Regions from separate parts of the Homo sapiens genome. Here region 1 is linked to region 2. The links are contacts of gene promoters, found by promoter capture Hi-C in blood cells and fetal thymus (Javierre and others, 2016). All regions are on one chromosome and are shown on one strand. Each heading gives the region's core, a stretch centred on a gene start or on the middle of the fragment in contact. The rest is flanking DNA. Distances are from core to core; before and after follow the strand shown.

What was found. The method cuts DNA at HindIII sites, captures the fragments that hold promoters and counts their contacts. A CHiCAGO score of 5 or more calls a contact.
Region 1: a contact is called between a fragment that was not itself captured here and the fragment with the promoter of MAPK1IP1L in region 2, in 1 of 17 cell types (fetal thymus). The highest score is 6.0, in fetal thymus.

What each region holds. Positions count from the first base shown.
Region 1 is chr14:56,576,149-56,578,848 of GRCh38, forward strand. No RefSeq gene overlaps it. Among named protein-coding and RNA genes, the nearest start is that of TMEM260, 2.3 kb to the right of the region's middle. The HindIII fragment of the contact is 280 bases long and covers 1,142-1,421 here.
Region 2 is chr14:55,050,236-55,052,935 of GRCh38, forward strand. MAPK1IP1L (mitogen-activated protein kinase 1 interacting protein 1 like) reads left to right here and starts at 1,412. Exons shown (of 4, transcript NM_144578.4): 1 at 1,412-1,568. RefSeq lists enhancers at 774-1,463, 1,003-1,202 and silencers at 1,233-1,472, 1,823-1,982. The HindIII fragment of the contact is 10,117 bases long and covers 1-2,700 here.

The DNA.
Region 1 (2,700 bases), core at 32-2,531, 1.5 Mb after region 2:
ATCATGTGTAAAGAGAGACATCATGAGGTCTCTCTCTTTATCTCTAACATTTTCTATCTTCAACCCTTCTCTTCTGTCCTCCTCAGTCCCATCCTCTCCAATAACCTGTACATCTTTACTTCATCACTATGTCTCTCCAAATACTCCCTTGAGTTACAAACAAAACAAGACATTCAAAAATCTTCATTTGACACTTCGATCCCTGTGAATTTTCATGCTATTTCTCTCTTTCCCTTCACTGCCAAACTTTTTGCAAATGTATTTTATTTTCATGTCTTCCATTTGCTCACTTCTTAGCCCACTAGTACCTTGTTTCTGTAGATACTACTCTACTGAAGCTGACCTCTTGAACTTTCAAGGTTCAAATACCTCCAGGTCACCAAATCCAACCATGCAGAGCCTGCTAGTTGCCCCTCAGTATCCATTCTCCCCTTCTTCCTTTGTAATAGAATTCTAGGCAAACTGTCCAGCTGAAAAGTCTATTTCGCAGCATCCTTTGCCCCTAGGAGTGACCTGTTATTCAATTTTGGCCAATTAGATATAGCAAAATTGTGGAATAGCATTTAAAAAAATAGTGCTTTTTTAAAAAAGCTGGAGCAGGCCTTTCTCTTCCCATCCTTTCTTTTTCTTCCTCAAGAACAGATGTAATGTCTGGAGCATTAGCAGCCACCTTGGATCAGTAGATGACCTTGAGAATGTGAGCTGAGTGGGATGGTGCAGAAAGATATGAGGACTTCAGCTGTGTCCCTAGTGGAATCAGGGAGTTGCCAAGCCAGTGGTAGACTGACTTCCTATAGACTTCTGACTTCTTTTATATAAGAGAATGATTGTTTTAATGTTTAAGACACTGTAGCAGGATCTGTCACTAGTAGCTAAATGCAATCCCTAACGGATATGCCAGTGATCTCTGATTGTTCATGTATTCATTTATTACATAAATATTTGTTTAGCACCAATTTTGTGCCAGGCATCATTTTAAATATGGTGGAAATTAGACAAAGTCCATCAGGTTTGACAGGCTATTTAGACATAGAAATGGAGAGGTCGGGGGCAGTTGGGTTTTTTAAAATAATCGGTCGCTAAAAAAGAGAAGCAGAGGAGGTCTAATTTTGAGAAATATTGCCCCATAGTTGCCCTTTAAAGCTTCAATATGATCATCTCGGGAAAGAAGACAGAAAGAGAGAAAAGTCTAGAACAGCCCAGGAATACTTCAGCATTTGGGGGACCGACAGAAGCAGAGCCAGGGCAGGGAGGCCATTGATAAAAGGAAAACCAAAGAGTGTGCTATCAATGAAGGCCAGAAAAGAAAATACTTCCGGGGAGGAAGGAATAGTCAGATGCTTACTGAGAGGTAGAGTCAGACATAAACAGAGAACTGGAAGTTCTTAATCTTCAAAGGAAAACAACCATGAAGCTAATGAAGCTTAGGCCTCACAGTTCCTCTCTAGCCCAGGTGTCTTCCAATATCTTGTGCCTAATTCTGTATCTGCAGTTTTATATCAGTTTACTTACATATAATTCTCCAAGTTTTATACACTTGAGCTTCACAAAATCTAGACGTGCCTCTCTTCATTGTCCTTTACCTCTCTGTAACATCCTGACCACATGTACTTCATCGACTTTTCTTCTTTAGCTTCTGGTGATGCCTCATTCTCTTACACTGTTCTCTCCCCTTCTCCAGCCATTCCCTAAATGAGAATATGGGCTGACATTAGACCTCAACCTTGTTCTCTCTACACTATCCCCTTATCAAGTTAGTCATTTATATCATCCTTACACGAGCAACTCCTAAATTTGTACTTCCAGCACTGATCTCTACCTCCCAAACATGGACAAAGAATTATTCCCCTCCAAAATAAAAAAATTTTAAATAAAACTCATGAGCAAAAGTGAAATGCATAAAAAGGGAAAGAAGTATATGCTTGACCCAGTCAAGGTTACTCATTGGCATGTTCTTTCAGCAAAGAAATAGAAGACAGCCTATCTTAACTATCTATTGCTGATAACTAACAAATTAGCCTGCATTTATCAACTTAAAACAACATTTATTATCTCGCGGTTTCTATAGGACAGCAGTCTGGATGAGGCTTAGTTAGGTCCTCTGCTTCAGGGTCATCCACAGGCTGCAATCCAAGTCTTGACAGGAGTTATAGTTATCTCAAGGCTTATGTGGGGGAAGGATCCACTTCCTAGCTCCCTCACATGGTGTTGCCTAGATTCAGTTCCTCTAAGGTTGTTGGACTGAAGGTCTCAGTTTCTTGCCAGCTGTTGGCTAGAGGCGGCTCTCAGTTTCTTCCCATGTGGACCTTTCCACAGGGCAGCCTACACCATGGTAGGTGGCTTCATCAGAGAGAACAAGTGAGAGGACAAGAGGGAGTGCCAGCAAGATGAAAGTTAGTCTTTCATAACCTAATCTTGAAAGTGACATCCATCACTTTTGCCTTATTGTATTGATAGAAGCCAATCCTTAGGTTAAGCTCACACATAAGGCGAGCAGCTTATACAGGAAGTGAGTGAGGAGGCAGGGTTATCTGGGAATCCATTTTAGAAGCACTCTACCACACAGCCCCTCTCCTCCAGGAACTCACAGTACAGCTGAGAAATTACCTGGAAAAGGCTGGAAATTGTATAAGTACCTGGAAAAGACTAAGGTGTGCTGGCCCCATGACCGTCAAGGTAGGTATATGTTACTCTATAGTT
Region 2 (2,700 bases), core at 162-2,661:
AAAAATAAGACTCTCGGCTTAGGTATTTGAAGTTCCTCTGTTGCCCCTTTTTCAGTGTGAGAATTGTGTGTGCTGTGGAAAACATCCAGGGATGTCTTCCTTTAAACAAGTTCATGGTTAAATGGCCACCCACTCACTCACTAATGCCTTACACAAAGCAAGATGCAAGTGTACCACATACTTTTAGGATATTTTTATATCTTAAAAAATGTATATTGGCCGGGCACAGTGGCTCACGCCTGTAATCCCAGCACTTTGCCGAGGAGGGCGGATCACAAGATCAAGAGATCGAGACCATCCTGGCCAACGTGGTGAAACCTCGTCTCTAAATACAAAAATTAGCTGGGCAAGGTAGCGCGCGCCTGTAGTTCCGGCTACTTGGGAGGCTGAGGCAGGAGAATCGCTTGAACCCGGGAGGCGGAGGTTGCAGTGAGCCGAGATCGCACCGCGCCACTGCACTCCAGCCTGGCGACAGAGCAAGACTCCGTCTCAAAAAAAAAAAAAAAGTATATTGCATATATGTATATATTTTGCACACCATATAATTATCACGACATCTTTATTGCTAGTTAGTAGGTTCCTTGACTGGGGTCATGTCATCTGTGCCTGACACAGGAGGTAATGTTTATTCAGAAATGAAGATGGCGGCTGGGCACGGTGGCTCACACCTGTAATACCAGCTCTTTGGGAGGCCGAAGCGGGCAGATCGCTTGAGGCTAGCAGGGTGAGACCCCATCTCTATCAAAAACACAAAAATAAGCCGGATGTGGTGGCACATGCCTGCAGTCTCAGCTACTCGGAGGCTAAGATGGGAGGATTGCTTGAGACCAGCAGGCAGAGGTTGCAGTGAGCCGAGATCGCGCCACTGCACTCCAGCGTGTGTGACAGAGGCCCTGTCTCAAAAACAACAAAAAAGAACATGGGAGAAGAGGCATTGATGAGGAAAAATCTACAAAGAAAGCAAATATCAATTTGTCAAGCTATTTGCAAACGTCTTCCCTTTCCTGTATTAATATTTTCCCTCTCCCCACTTTTGGCCCGAGGATCTGAGTCCTCGGGTCAGGCCGAAATCAGACCGCGTCCATACCCAGCCTCCTTCGAGGCCTAGCTGTAAAAACCGCTGAGCAAAAGGAATCCAGAATCAGCCCTCAAGCAACTCAAGACAAGTTAGCAATTTCCGCCGGGAAGCCGTGAACATCGGCAGCCACTGGCGTTTCCTCCGAGTCCTCGGAACTCCGGAAACTCTGGGAGCTTTTAGCCCGCCCACCAGGGGAAAGCGGCCCGGAGCCGGCGCCAGGTGGAGCCCATCCCCCTAGGCCTGGCGGGCCGCAGTACCGCCAGGGGCCTGCGGGAGGCGCACGCGGCGCGGCCTGAGGGGAGGGGGAGAACGGGCGGAGGCGGTGCGCTCGGCGCTTCCTGTTCCGGCGCCAGGAGGAGCCGCGCGCTGCTGGTGCTGTTGCCGCCGCTGCTCTAGCTGCCGTCAGTCAGGCTGCGCCCGCGTCTTCAGGGCCCAGTCCCTCGGACCCATCGCCGCTTCTAGACCCTACTGCGGTCTCGGATATTGCCGGGTGAGGCTGCTTCGGTACTAGTGGGAGTCGTGAAGGGGAATCGGGGAGCTGGGGTTGCGGAGCCCGCGGGCGCGGCCAAGCGGGAAGCGGGCGCGGTGACCGAGGTGCATCGAGTCACGTCCAGTGCTCGGGCCGTGGTCGCCTGCCTGGCACCAGGACTAAGCGTTTCTATCGGTCGCCTTCCTCCACGCTGCGGGCTGCCTGGGGATCGCCCCCCAGGGAGAAGGTGTCGGAGGCCGCTGACGTCGCGCCCGACGGGTTTCTGGGCGCCTGACGTCAGGTCTGGCTGCGGGGCGGGGCGGGCGCGGGCCGGCCCCTCCCCCACCCCTTCCCGGCGGGCGCGACCCGCTAGGAGGCCGGTTCGCTCCGGTTGATCCCGGACTCCCTTTGTTCGTGCGTCCCTAAACGGCTGCCGGCCTCGCGCCCCTTGGCCCCGATTTCCCCTCTACCCCCACCCTATTACACTCATTCATTAATTTTTAATAAAAAGGGAAAGGCCTGAAAAGATTCTTACAAGAGTCTCGGGCGCTTGTTAATCCGCAGTGTGACAACGTTCTGGTTATGACTTACTAGAGGAATTGCTCACGGATACATTAGATGAATACCCAGGGCAAACCACGAGAAGGGCAGAATTCAGTGATCTCCTTTTTTAGGACTGAGGAGCACATACCTGCGATAGCGTATGCATAGCTGGACCGTTTTCCTCTTTACCTTGAAAAGCAAGAGTACAGCTTTTAATAGGTAAAGATTCCAGTGTTAAAGCATGAAGCCAGGCTCACTCGACCGCAAGAATTTTTTTTAGTTTTACTACTAGAGAAATACACACCTGGGGGTTGTAAAGGTCTGTTTCGAAAAGGAACCCTCATTACAGGCAAAGGTAGCCTTCAGAAACATTTCATAAGTTCTTTGTTCACTGGTGTTCTTTGGGGGAAGAATAGAAATTTTTCATGCTGGCATCTCTGAGCCCACAATGCAAAGCGAGTTTGCTTCAGAAACTTGGAGTGAATTGCAAATATTGGAATGTTCTTTTCCTCACTCCAGGCGGAATGGGTAAAATCCATCCCCAGTCTCTTAACTGAAACTTTTGAAGCTAGTGTGTTTTGAATTCAAAAATACTTGGATTTTATCTTCA